5 separate regions of the Homo sapiens genome follow, and all the other regions are linked to region 3. The links are contacts of gene promoters, found by promoter capture Hi-C in blood cells and fetal thymus (Javierre and others, 2016). All regions are on one chromosome and are shown on one strand. Each heading gives the region's core, a stretch centred on a gene start or on the middle of the fragment in contact. The rest is flanking DNA. Distances are from core to core; before and after follow the strand shown.

Region 1 (2,753 bases), core at 141-2,640, 770 kb before region 3:
ACATGAATGACAGAAGGGCACCAAGGAAGACCCCTTCCTTCTCCTCTGTTGATCTTCATTGTAGATTAACCTCCCTCTCACCTTTCTCACACAAAGACTTCATGACTACCACATTGTCTTAAGATGGAATGTTAAACATACTCTTTTAAATTGGAAAGGAAATGAAAATCAGCTATGAATAAAACAAGCCATACAGAAAAGAAAACAAACTCTAACTAATTAATTTGTTATAACTCTTAAACCAGTATATAGGAAATATAATCCTGTTAAATTTCTTTGTCTTCTTCCTATATAAGCAAAAACTTAACTTTTAACTTCAGAGCACTGATCCTATTTCTCTGAAATCTGTGTGTCCCAGAATGGCCATTCCCAGCTTTCTTCTTGATTAAACTCTTTAAAACTAGATTTTGACCCTTCTTATTATCTCATATTGACACAATCCCTCTTTATGACAGAACAACACAGAAAGACAAAGACAAAAGACAAGACTATTTCTGGGAGGAAAAAGACAATATGAATTTTCATACCAAAAAGTACACCAGAGTTGCTACACCTAAGACTAGGCTCACAAATCCTTTTCCTCCATTAATCAAGACTTTCAACTAGGTACGGTGGCTCACTCCTATAATCCCAGCATTTTGGGAAGCTCAGGTGGGTGTATCACCTGAGGTCAGGAGTTTGAGACCAGCCTGGCCAACATGGCAAAATCGCATCTCTACTAAAACCACAAAAATTAGCACCACCACTAGGTAGTGGTGGTGCATGGCTGTAATCCCAGCTACTCGGGAGGCTGAGGCACAAGAATTGCTTAAACCTGGGAGGCAGAGGTTGCAGTGAGCCAAGATCGTACCACTGCACTCCAGCCTTGGCAAGAGAGTGAGACTCTGTCTCAAAAAAAAAAAAAAAAAAAAAAAAGACTTTGGAGAGGGAAAGGGACAGTGACTTTTACTGTCTACTGGACCAGATTGCACAAAGAGAGGCTTGGAGCCTGGCTGGTAAGAATTTCTTATCCTACGGGTTTGTTGAGTCCTGGGCTCCCTTGACTGTGGCTTCCAGAAGAGCAGAGCAGTTTTGCTATCCTGCTCACAGTGCAAAACTGTAGGGGCCAAGGGAAACTTCCCCTGCATTCTGTAAAAGTTCACTGAAAATCAACTGACAGAAGGCAGATTAATAGGAGAAAAAGCATACAAATTTATTAACATGTGGGTGAGGGAATCAAACAGTGATTACCCCAATCTCCTAATGGGGTACAGAAGCTTCTATACCCTTTTTCATAGAGGAGGAAGGATATAGGGAATGTAGCCAGTTCTTTAAAGGGTGGTAAACGATTATTAGGGAAAATGAATGGACCAGGGATACAGAAATTAACTTGTAAATGATGATTATCTTTAGAATGTGAGGTGGAGAGGCAGGCATTATCTTGTGGAAAAGTTTATCCAGGTGTGGTTACATTCTTCAACCTTCTTTTCTGCTGTAGATAATGAGGTAACAGGGAGGGAACAGGCAATTGTATTTCTTTTGGCAAGAAGCTTTCTTGGTTAGATAAGGAAATTTCAGAGACAGTCCCTCTCTCTGCTGTCGAAAGGAAGGAGAAGAGGGTTAGAGGGACCTTGATTCTGAGGCTTATTTCTGAGTCCTTTCAATTTTCTTTCTTTTTCCTTTTTATTAAGATACAGGTCTCACTATGTTGCCCAGGCTGGTCTCAAACTCCTGGGCTCTAGCAATCCTCCCGCCTCGGCCTCCCAAAGTGCCAGGACTATAGGCATGAACCACTGCACTGGGCCTCAATTTTCAAAAGCATGCAGTATGCCCAAGTGCCATATTTGGGAGAATCATTTTCTATATCCCAAACGCTTTCTATTTCTGCGTGCCTGTTTATGTATCTGTCAGGATACTGTGTTAAGCTATGGCAACAAACTAACACAAGGTCTCAGCGACTTTATACAACAAAGGTCTATGTCAGGCTCATGTTACGTGCCCTTTGCTAGTCAGCCAGGAGCTCTGTTTTGTGTCCCTGTCATCCTGACTTGGATCCTTGCTAAAGGAGCAGCCACCATCTAGAACATTTTGTAGCCTTGGCAAAGGGAAAAGAGAGAAAGGTGAATCATGCTTCCTCTTAACAATTTCACAGAAAAGTGGTGCACATCACTTACATTTTATTGGCAAGACAAAATTCAAGTGGGTGGATGTGATATTGTGAAATATATATTTGGGTTTTGTCCCCATTTCTTGGCATACAGCTCCTAAACGTGATAAGAGCTAGCTCCTGGAGTGACAAGAATGTCTTTTGTATGCTAATGAATGACTACTGTCTAGCAGCCCCTAAATAGCTTCAGGACGGGGACTGGTCATGGGAGAGACCTAGGCATGATTAGAGAGTTGGGACTTTCAGCCCCATCCTGTAGTCTCCTGGGAGGGGAGAAAGGCTGAAGGTAGAGTTGACACCTATGGGCATTAATGTAATCAATCATGCCTATGTAATGAAGCCTCCATAAAAACCCAAAACGACTGGGTTTGGGGAGCTTCCACATAGGTGAACACATGGAGGTGCCTGGAGGAGACAGAGAGGACATGAAATTGCTTCATGTGGGGTAAGAATTGCTTCATGTGGGGAAAACCCCTGTACAACTGGTGGCAGAAGTGTTGCACTGAGTGACTGAGAGTAGAGAGCAGGGAAAACACTGTTATTTTTCTATCCTATAGCAGAGAAGTGCACTCTTGCCATTGTCTGGAGGGAGAGAATCATCTAAATG
Region 2 (2,700 bases), core at 113-2,612, 820 kb before region 3:
ACAGCTGTGGTCACTTCACAAAGCAGTTTCCTAAAGAGTGCTGTGGCCTGTCCACTTTCTAGTTGGCAAAGATCCCAAGTTCTTAGGTATTGATTGATTCATAGGGAGCAGGGATAGAAATCTACCTTCTTTCTGCTCCTTTAAAACAAGTCTTTTATATGCCATGCCCTTTGTACTGTGTCTGACACATGGCTGTCACTCAATGCTTATTAAACGAATGAGTACATTAATATGTCAATTCTGCCTCAAACAAATCCAACATGTATCCATGACTCTACAGTCCATCATTCCTGCTCTAGCTAAGGTCATTATAGTCCAAACTTTCTTTCAATTTTTATCCACACTACAGATTTTTGTGGTTTCCTTAAGAGACCTGATCATAAGCCACACTTTCTTAAAAATCACCAATGGCTCTCTAATGCCAAACTCTTTAGAGAACTTTGACTTTTTTTTCTAGCTCCATCTTGTTTTATAAACTGTCCACTTGAGCCTGGTCCCTGAACAGGTCCTCATAGTCACAGTTCTGGTACTTTTCCAATCCCATTCCTCCATGTACTTTTGAGTACCCTTTCTCACACATCTTGTGAAATTTCACACCCCAAACCCTCAAACAACACTTCCTCTCTGACTTCCTGGCCCCATAACAAGTACTCCTTTACTCTGTCCCCATAGTATTTTCAACATATCCTAGAGAATTTAGTACATTTAATTGCACTTCAGTTGTTTACTTCCACTTTAGACTTAAGAATTCCTTAGAGCAAACATTCATCTTTTCACACCAAACTATTATAATGCTTGGTACTTAATAGTATCAAGTACTACATGACCTTAATAGATGCTCAAAAAGCTTAAATTCCATTTCTAACACTAGACATATACCACTCTACACTAAACTGGAAGCAAATCACAGCCTTTCTACTAGAAAATGTATTCTGACTTAGTAAAGCAATCTCTCCCCAGAGAACCACCCCCATACACTTAATTTTGCATTCATTTCAGGGTGTTCATGAATGCCAATAACCAAATTCCACCCCAACAAACACTGTGGCTGTAAATTGAGATTCTCTTCTCAACAAATACGACATTTGGCATGGTAGAAAGAGATCAGACTGTGGCTAGAAACATCAAGTTTTAATACCAGCTCCTACACTTAGCATGAGTTAATATTTAAGCTCCAGGACTCAAATTCCAAATTTTTAAATGTGGTGAATACATACCGACTTTGCTAGTTTTGCTTTATTGAAAACTGATAAAGTATCTAGCGCAATGTAGCCATAGAAGTGTATTTTTAACTACAACTTGTGTCATGGAATTGGCATGGAATATTCTGTCACCATCTCATGAAAGTAAGGTAATGCAGTTGTCACTTGCCACTTGCAAATGAAACATGAAAATAGTATTTATTGTTCAAATACTTATAATATGGGGGCTTTCTGTATTGAATTTTTAAAATCTTTTACATAATCCTTTTTCAATTCATTCAAATTAGTATTTTACCTTAAGTGTCCTGGTTTTATCTTATAGTAGTAAGATTGTTGGCTTTCTTTTCACAAAGGTCTACCAATGGGTTCATGGCACTCAAATAACCATAATTCACTTTCTCATTTCTTCTGTATTATGTACTTTTTGTAAAAACACCTATCAGACTGCACCTGACATACAGCAAATAAGTTTTTCATTAATGGTTAACCTTAGAATCTAAAATTGATTACCAACGACTACCTCCCAGCCTAAACCATATAAAGCAATACAATGAAAAACAGGCTTGAATTTTCTCCAGATATTTAATGCAAGATGCAATGTAGCCATATTCCATGAAATGTGGTTAGCAGTAGGGGAGTTGTAGCCCTATCGAATCAAAGTATTACAATACAGCTGAAAGCTTTATATAGACGTATTTCGGTTCTTAATTGCACTAATGCAGACAGTTTGATAGATAAGCTTCTCTCTTGTGCTTTTTCTACTTTGGGAGGTTATATACTTTAGATGAGAGACAAAGAAACTCTACTGGTTTAAGAGTTCTCAGTTTTACTTTTACTATAGACCTTTTTTCCCACCAGTTTAGATGGGAAGACCCAGCCTTTGGTATAAATAACTTACTTCCACAAAAATATTTAAAGGGTATCTTTAGTGTTCACTGTCAGTTGTGTAGTCTTTTGGTAAGGGGGTGGCTAGAGCCTCTTTACTCTCAGTAAGTGCTCTGGGCTGATGGATAAACACACTAAATTTAACACCCTGGTTGTTTGCAGCTCTGACAAAACCACTATTAGCAGTCATTGTGATGGCTTTTAGGGTGTCTCCCGTCCCAAAAATTGTTAATGAGCGGCTATTAATTTTTGAACTGGCCACTAGTCTCAAGGCACGCTCAGAAGGCTGGTCTGGTACCACATTAATTCGCTTAATTAACACAGTGGCCCTCTCTCTCTCCCCAGGTCCTCCTAAGGTATCTAAAATAGACTGAAAGTCCTTGACAGCAGATTCACAAGCAAACAACTCCTTGTCCTTCATAAAGGCCTCCAGCTGAGGTAGAACCTGCTCTTTCCTCTCTTGCTCTGCTTGTTCTGTGAGCACTTTCTCTTTGAAAATAAAGTGGCAGCCTCCATAGCTGAGGGCAGATACATATGTGATTAAAGTAGTAATGTCCAGATTTACTCTTTTGCACACATCGACCTTAATTTCTGTTGGAAACGCAACACTTGC
Region 3 (2,769 bases), core at 161-2,660:
TACAGGCTCCCGCCACCACGCCCGGCTAATTTTTTGTATTTTTAGTGGAGACGGGGTTTCACCGTGTTAGCCAGGACGGTCTTGATCTCCTGACCTCGTGATCCACCCGCCTCGGCCTCCCAAAGTGCTGGGATTACAGGCGTGAGGCACCGCTACGTTTTAAATGGTGAACTCTACGGTAGGTGAACTATGTGTCAGGAAGCTGTTTTATTTTTTTAAAGGACTGAAGACTTTTGTTTTGTGTTTTGTTTTGTTTTCATTTTATCCCGTTTTTAAAACAGTGCCTAGCAATATTATGAATTCAATCGATTTTGGCTAAATGCTAGAACAAAAATTAAAACTTGAGTAAACCATATAAAACTTTGCCATATCTAAAGTTATTAAATTACCGTAGACTGGCATGGTGGGAGCATAATATGAGTGTACCTGCAGGTGTGTTTTCCATGAAAGTAGCAAAGACTGAAAAACTCAGCAGAATCAAGACCCTGTAGGCCCTTGAAGTTAGGCTAAGAAATGTGTATTATCCTGAAAGCAACGGGAAGGCCAGGAAGATTCTGAGGACAGAAATAACACAATCTGATATGCGTTTTAAACGTGCAGGTGTAAGCGGAGAGTTGCTACTTCTATCCAAACGTGAGCCACCTCAGAAATAAAGCAATAGCCCTCCGGGGAGAATGGGGAGGAATCAGGGGAAGACCGGAGAAACAGGTTATCAAATTATCAGAATCTCCATAGATTTTTTTAAATTACACAGCATCCACCCCCAAACACACATACAGACTGATAGGCACTGATATATACATAAATACATCCAATGTCCCCTACACAGAAAATCACTTTTGCAGTCAGCCCCTGTTGGGAGGGTTTTTCTGTTATTCAAGTGTGGTGGGGACAAAAAGTATTATAACCACTAAACCAGGTAATTCTTTCCTACAATAATTTGGGCAGCGTACTCCTCAGGGTGTTGAAATTTAGCACTACCAACAAAAGTGCCCAGTCCCAACTCTTCGAGAGGACCCTAACTCTTTACAGTGTGCTGTTGGGGATGGTCAGCAAAAACTGCAGGACAAGGTCAAGGTTAGCTCGACACAGCCTCCTAACTCCGAGCGGACGGAGCCACTGAAGGTTACCAGGTGCCAAAGAAGCTGCGCAGGGAGGCCGCGACCCGGCGCCGGCGCGAACCTCCGCGATGTGACCCGTGAGGGAACTCTCCAAGAAGCAGCGCACCCCGCGCGCAAAGGCGGCCCCCCGAATTGCAGGAACAAACGCTTCTTGCTGGGGGGAAGACGGAGACTCTTATACCGCGGGAGACTAACCTGTGAGCAACAGAAGCACCACGCTACAAAGAGCATGACGAGTTCTTCCAGGCTTGGGAAAGCACGGGTAAATGCCCGCGGTCCTGCGCGCCAGCGGGGAGCAGTAGAGACTTCCGGCGTCGGCTGCTCGCAGGGCTAGAGCGTCGAACCGGGACAACCGGAGGCTTCAGCTCACCTCGGATTGTAAATGCTAACACGGGTCCTCCGGCCGGCTGATCCAGAACTTAGGTCGCCGGGACGTGTGGCTTCTGCTTCTCAGACGCTCGGACTCGCGCCGGGAAGGGTTTCGCCTCCCCTGGTCCCCGCTTTTTTTTTTTTTTTCTGCGTCCGGTTATTGCAAATGCATTCAGTCCAGTAGCACTAGCCCAGGAAATATAAGCCACCGGCTCACGTTGCTCCTCACAGGTATGCGGCGCTTCCGCTGGCCTCCAAGGACACGAAGCCCCGGGCCGTCTGGCCCCCCACTCTAGCACTGAAATTCCTGCCGCCCCGTTCAGCTGACAAATTTGGCAGCACTAAATTTTATTTTATTCGACAAATTAAGTACCCAGTTAACACCAGGGAGTAACGGGGTAAGAAAATTTCAGAAGGCTGGTGGATAATAATAGCATTTACCTCATAAATTTGTTATGAGGATGTGAAGCACTTAGAGTAGTGTCTGGCAGTTTGTAGGCGCTCAGTAACTGTTAGCTGTTATTATTTTTATATTGATTATTCCATAGTCACCACTATTATCACCTTAATGTCAAGCTTGAAATCCAGTATCTTTCCTCTGCGAAGCCATCACTCCAAGACTAATTAACTTTAGACTGGGGCATTCTTCTTTAAACTCTTGCTCACACATCCCTATCAGAAAAAATATATATATATTTACATGTGTCATGTATGGCATTAATATATTATGCATGCTATAAAACTCACAAGACATCAAACTTTTGATGAGGTAAAAACAATTTTTAAACTTTTTTAAAAACTTCTAACAGAAGTTCTTTTCTTCCTCCACAACAATTAGGTTGCCAAACATACATTCTATCACTCTGGAATCCACTAGCTAAATGAGCACATTATCAAAGCAACCTACCGCTGAATTCTGACTTCCCAGAATGTTTCTTTTCCAAAGAATTAATAGAAACTAATCAGATTGTGAAGTGCTCGGCCATAAGGACTATTTAAATGGTTCTTAGAGAAAAAGAAGAAATAAAATAGGCATCCACTGAGTAATATTCATTGATGCAACATTGATTATTGACTTATTACATTTTCAAAGAGATTGAGGTTATAATACCTTACACCAAGCTTAATATTTCAAAGAATAAATCAACTAATAAAAAGCTTATGAGGTTTGGTATATGTGCATTTCATACAACGTTCATGAAAATGAACCCGAGATCAATTAGCTCCCGTTCTGTACCAGAAAGAGAAATATGTTTACTTTGTAAGTAATAAAACATTA
Region 4 (2,794 bases), core at 36-2,535, 550 kb before region 3:
CTGGATTCAATTCTGGAGTCTGTTACTGTGTGTAGAGGACTTTGTGGCTGAACTGTAAAAGAAACTCTCAATGTCTCCTTTTGCTCTGCCATATTTTTTTCAGAAAGCAGAAAGAGGCTTCAGTCAGAAGGAGTATACAACAGAACTTCAATAAGAGGTCGTGAAGCAGTCCTCATTTTGTATTTTAGGACCATTTTCATTATGAATCTGTGTCTCAGTTAATTTTCTGTGGCTATAACTGAACATCTAAGACTGGGTAATTTATAAAGAAAAAAATTCTTTATTTGAATCCTGTAGGTTGGGAAGCCCAAAGTTGAGGGGCTTCATCTAATGAGGGCCTTCTTACTGGTGGGGACTCTGCAGAGGCCTGAGGTGGCTGGGGCCTTCACACAGTGGGGGGCTCACAATAGATGGTCAAACTGGCTTTATAACAGACCCACTCTTGTGATAACTAACCCCCTCCCTCAATAACCCATTAATCCATTAATCTACTAAATCATAAATAGGTTAACCCATGCATGAGGGCAGAGTCCTCTTGACCCAATCATCTCCCGAAGGTCTCACTTCTCAACACTGCTGCATGGCGGACTAAGTTTCCAACACATTGACTTTTGGGGACACATTCAAACCATACCACTATGTGATGTTCTAGAATAGGGGCTCTTTCTCTAGGGACTGGGGGCCCCTAGGTCTGAGTTTCTAGAAGTTTGTCTAAAGGCCACCTGCATTGCAATTACGAAGCAGTGCCTGTTCATTTGCAGGCTCCTGGGCCTCTTCCTGAGATCCCTTAGATTACTATTTTTGAGGCTGGAGTTTGAAAATTTGCATTATAACAAGCTCTCTGGCTATTATTTTATGACATTATAGTTTGAGAACTACTCCTCTAGAGTTTCAGGGTTGAAAATTGCCTGAAATTGTAGGCAAACATTTTTGCGATTTGCATATAAACTTTTTTTTTCTATGGCATTCAACATATTTGGAACTATTACTCTAGAAAACAGAAGCTTGGACCCTGGAAGAATATTGCTCTCTCACACATTTGGGATTAAGTGGCTCAGCTTCTGTGGATGATGCCCAGAGAGGCTTAATGAGAACTTTGTAGGAACAAGTCCCAGCACTCTTCTCTCTGATCATTGGTGGTGGGGCCTTCCACAGTGAATCTACCAGTACACAGGTCTGATCATGTCACCCTTCATTCAAAAAGGTCATGTGTTCCCTAGTACCTAATGACCAGAATCTCAGGATCTGAGCCTGATCCCAGGGCAGTCTGGACTGAGTTTGTCCCTCATCAAGTTTTTCAGTGTATTCCCCACAGTCATCTTTCCCGTGCTGTCTTCCAGCCAGGGTTTGAGCCAGCATCCTTTTATTCTCCATGTATTGTGGTTTTAAAAAAGACTGTGGATTCAGACAACTTGAACTCTAGCCCTGGCTCTGCTACTTGTCACCTGTGTGAGTCTAGGCAAGTGACTTAATCACTGTGAGCCTTCATTTCATCCTTAATAATATAAGAAAAATAGCACCTACTTCAACCCGTTTTGTGAAGGTTAAATGAGTCTGTGTGAACATGAAGCTTAGCACAGCGTCTGGCACAAACACTCTGGCTGGCACCCTTCCTCCCATCTCAATGCCTTCTCCCCTTCTCTACAAATCCCAAACCTATCCATCTCCTCCTGAAGTCTTCTCAGTTCTTCCCTTTACTCCCCTACAGGAGGCACTGTCTCCCTCTTCTGAATACTGGTAACACATTATTTTCATCTTTCTTTAGCACTTAACCAATCCTGGCTTTGTGAACTTTTCAGACATCTGTTTGATCTCCCCTGCCCCTGTGGGCAGGGTTTTTTTGGTTTGGTTTGGTTTTTGAGACAGAGTCTCGCTCTGTCACCCAGGCTGGAGTGCAGTGGCATGATCTTGACTCACTGCAAACTCTGCCTCCTGGATTCAAGCAATTCTGCTTCAGCCTCCAAAGTAGCTGGTACTACAGGTGCCCACCACCATGCCTGACTAATTTTTGTATTTTAGTAGAGACGAGGTTTCACCATGTTGACCAGGCTGGTCTCAAACTCCTGAACTCAAATGATCTGCCCGTCTTGGCCTCCCAAAGTACTGGGATTACAGGCGTGAGCCACCGCACCTGGCCAGCAGGGTTCTATCTAACTATCCCCATGGACCGAGCCACAAGCTTTCTTGCACATAAAAGGTGCAAGACTGGAACTTGGTTTTAATGCTATTCATGATAGACAGGAATTTAGTGTAAGATGTATTCCATGTTACCCAGGAATTTACTGGATTAAATAAGCCACCACTTGGTAACATGAAAGAAAGTGCCAAATATCAAGTGATCCTCCAGCTTGGCCTCCAGACAGCTTTCTGTAAAGCTGCTGCTTTCTATGATAGCTCACATGTGTTGAGCTCCTCAATGCTTATTAGGCACTGGTCACTGTGCAGAGCGCTGCCTCCTCACACTCGCCCCTTGTCTTGCGTTCTCTCACATCCCTAATTTAAAGGTGAGAAAGTGGAGGCTGAAAGATGGAAAGAAACATGTCCAAGGTGCCACAGCTAGAGGTTGGGCAGCAAGGGGGACTGTATGCTTTGAATCACTGTGGTTCACTACCAGAGCCGCTGTGGCGTTCCTCAACTCCAGCCCACTTGGACCTTCAAGGCTTACAAAGATCCTTTCATTGTAGATTCTTTAAATTAAGGATGGCTTGTTAAAATGGAAAGCTCAATTGCAAAAGCAGCCTTTTCAGAACACTTCCTGAAAATATCTTTTTTATGGAGCATGATACCTGATTCA
Region 5 (2,700 bases), core at 127-2,626, 850 kb before region 3:
GAAATGTGTAAGACTTTTATACAAAAAACTGCAAAACATTAATAAGAAAATGTTTGAAATACTTAAGTAAACAGGATGTGTCTGTTCCTTGACTGGAAAACTCAATGTTGTTAAGATGTCAGTTCTCCCAGAATTGGTCTATAGATTCAATGCAATTCAATGTAATCCCACTAAAACTCCCTTGGTTTTCTGTTGTTGTGTTGGGGGTTGGGCGGGGTGGGGGGGTAGAAACTAACAAGCCGATTCTTCTCTTTTTCCCCCATTGGCTAGGCTCCCTCAAAGCAGACAAGCTGTTTCTAAAATTCATACGGAAATGCAGAGAGCCTAGAATGTCCAAGGACGTAAGGAAGTAGAACAAAGCTCATATATTTTAAACCATGAGATATAAAGCCTATTAGAAAACTACAGAAATTAAGACAGTGCAGTACTGGTACTAGAATATGGAGCAGACCAATCCAATAGGAAGAGGAGTCCAGAAACAGACCCACAAGTCTCCCACACCCTAATGGGGAGAGAGGGAACTCCACTGCAATTCAGTGGGAAAAGGTACATGGAAAACAAAAACAAGAAACCTTGGCCCCCTACTTTAGGAAAGCTGAGAAAATCAAGTTTCTATAAGAAATATAGGACAATATCTTCATGAGCTTAGAAGAGGCAACTATTTCTCAAACATGACACCAAAACTGAAACTGCCTTTGCAAAACTATGACAATAAAAGAAATCCAATATGGCTGAGTTCATCTTGCTTCTAGCCTCACAGGCTGGCTGTCTTCATTCATTCACGGGTATAGACCAAGCTTACTATGGGAGAAATTTAGTTTACAGTTTAAATAATAACAGCCCTTCCCAAAAACTAAACTTTCTTTGTAAAACTAATGAAAGGCCACCAAGTTAGGAGGATGAAAGGGGTCTGAATTCTGCTAGATGTAGGCATAGTTAAATACTTACTAGTCATTATTCTGGAGGTCCCAAGATTTGCAACTTCCCCAATTACTCCTGCAGATAGCATCACTCTTGTAGAACCTAAGATTGACCTTTTGAGATGTCTTTTAAGGCTTTTGCATTTCTGACAACCAGATGATTCCACTTGGACCTGGACATTGGACCTGGACTCCTCTAGTAGCCCCCACTCAGAAACAGCCTCAGCACACAAGGATCATTTTCCACACCCCTATGATTGCATCCTCAACTAATCAGGATGTCCCCTTCTGGATACCCTTGCCCAACAAATTCTCCTTGGAAAACCCTAGTCTACAAATTTCTGGAGAGATTAATTTGAGTAATAACTGTCTCCCATGTGGCATGGCCAGCCAAGGGTTAATTAAACCCTTTCTTTACTGCAATGTCATGGTCTCAGTGGATTGACGTTGTTTGTGCAGCAGGCAGGAAGAACCTATCAGGTTATTACAGAACTACTATTAAGAAAGTAAAACAGGCCAAGCATGGTGGCTCATACCTGTAATCCCAGCACTTTGGGAGGCTGAGGCAGGAAGATCATTTGAGCCTAGGAGTTTGAGACCAGCCTGGGCAACACAGGGAGACTAAAAATTCAGCTAAAAATTAGCTGAGTGTGGTGGCCTGCCTGTAGTCCTAGTGTCATGGGACTTTTGAGGTATTGCTTTGCCATCCAGAAATCTCTGTAGCCAGTGGCACCTTTGCCTGAGTTTTGCTTGGACTTGCTGGGCTCATTCTGCCCACTCGGCCTGGCAGGCTGTACTCAGCTATAACTACCAGCCTGGATCCCATGCCTGCCAAAAGCAAGCCAGGCACAGAGCAGCAAAGGGTGTGTGAGCGAGCACTCAGTCCAGCCACTGTGCACAGACAGGCATACCAGCTGCAGTGGGGTGGGCAGCTCCAGGCACTGGCACAGGTGCCAGCTCCCTGTTAGGCTGTGGCTGGACCAGGTGTACCACAAGCAGCTTCCGTGGCTGGCACTGGGAAACATGGTGGCACCTGGAAGCTTGGAGATGCCAGGAACCACAGAGCCTGAAAGAGGGTGTCACAGCCCTGGCTTGGGGATCTCCTAGGTCTGTGCTCCCCAAAGGGCTGCAGCTCTTCTATCATTTTGTCTTCTCTCCTTGTCGCCTGCAAAGTGGCGAGTCAGGGGCATTTCAGCCCTGTTTGTGTTACAGCTTTTTTAGCCCCACCATTCAGCAGGACTTGAGTTCTTATCCTGTATCCAGGAAGAATGAGGTACACAGACAAGTGGAAGGTGAGCAAGGCAAAGAGGAGCTTTATTGAGTGATAAAACAGCTCAGAGGAGACCTGCAATGGGTAGCTCTTCTCTGCAGGCAGGGTGTCCCAGTGAGTGTTCAGCTCTCAGCAGAGATGAGACCATGGAGTAGGTAGCTCCTCTCCACAGCTGATTGTTGTGTTGTCTTCCCAGCTCTCAGCAGAGAGGAGACCCTGGAGTGGGCAGCTCCTCTCCACAGCTGGCAGGTCATTGTCCCCTCGAGTCTGGCTGAGTCTGGGGCCATTTTAGGCCTTAGAGGGGAGGAAATGCATCCAATTTGTCCATGGGTGGCCATGGGTGGGCCCAGAAAAAGCACCACAAGTTCCCACTTCGGTCCATGGGACCGGCAGCCTGGCCCCAGGCTTCAGACACTCTGCAGTTTGAAGGTGGGGTTTCACCGAGGTCTTGCCCATTTCCACCCAGGAGCCTGTCTGCCTCCTGCTGCCATTCATAGCGCCTAGGCTGTT

The links. Contacts are between HindIII fragments. The CHiCAGO score rates a contact against its expected background, and 5 or more counts as called.
Region 1: a contact is called between a fragment that was not itself captured here and the fragment with the promoter of COA1 in region 3, in 4 of 17 cell types (naive B cells, naive CD4 T cells, naive CD8 T cells and 1 more). The highest score is 7.9, in naive B cells.
Region 2: a fragment that was not itself captured here is called in contact with the fragment with the promoter of COA1 in region 3 in 11 of 17 cell types (total B cells, total CD8 T cells, naive CD4 T cells and 8 more); the score reaches 10.5 in total B cells.
Region 4: a fragment that was not itself captured here is called in contact with the fragment with the promoter of COA1 in region 3 in 1 of 17 cell types (total CD4 T cells); the score reaches 5.1 in total CD4 T cells.
Region 5: a contact is called between a fragment that was not itself captured here and the fragment with the promoter of COA1 in region 3, in 2 of 17 cell types (naive CD8 T cells and total B cells). The highest score is 6.5, in naive CD8 T cells.

What each region holds. Positions count from the first base shown.
Region 1 is chr7:42,962,994-42,965,746 of GRCh38, forward strand. No RefSeq gene overlaps it. Among named protein-coding and RNA genes, the nearest start is that of MRPL32, 32 kb to the left of the region's middle. RefSeq lists an enhancer at 2,342-2,401. The HindIII fragment of the contact is 273 bases long and covers 1,255-1,527 here.
Region 2 is chr7:42,907,508-42,910,207 of GRCh38, forward strand. C7orf25 (chromosome 7 open reading frame 25) reads right to left here. Exons shown (of 2, transcript NM_001099858.2): 2 at 1,766-2,700. The coding sequence ends at 2,128. Among named protein-coding and RNA genes, the nearest start is that of C7orf25, 3.2 kb to the right of the region's middle. The HindIII fragment of the contact is 1,035 bases long and covers 846-1,880 here.
Region 3 is chr7:43,728,113-43,730,881 of GRCh38, forward strand. It overlaps COA1 (cytochrome c oxidase assembly factor 1), which reads right to left and starts at 1,411. Exons shown (of 6, transcript NM_018224.4): 1 at 1,317-1,411. RefSeq lists enhancers at 697-1,426, 1,427-2,155, 1,522-1,721. The HindIII fragment of the contact is 9,306 bases long and covers 1-2,064 here.
Region 4 is chr7:43,176,169-43,178,962 of GRCh38, forward strand. The region is part of intron 2 of HECW1 (HECT, C2 and WW domain containing E3 ubiquitin protein ligase 1); the gene reads left to right. Among named protein-coding and RNA genes, the nearest start is that of MIR3943, 27 kb to the left of the region's middle. The HindIII fragment of the contact is 566 bases long and covers 1,003-1,568 here.
Region 5 is chr7:42,880,971-42,883,670 of GRCh38, forward strand. No RefSeq gene overlaps it. Among named protein-coding and RNA genes, the nearest start is that of C7orf25, 30 kb to the right of the region's middle. The HindIII fragment of the contact is 1,163 bases long and covers 796-1,958 here.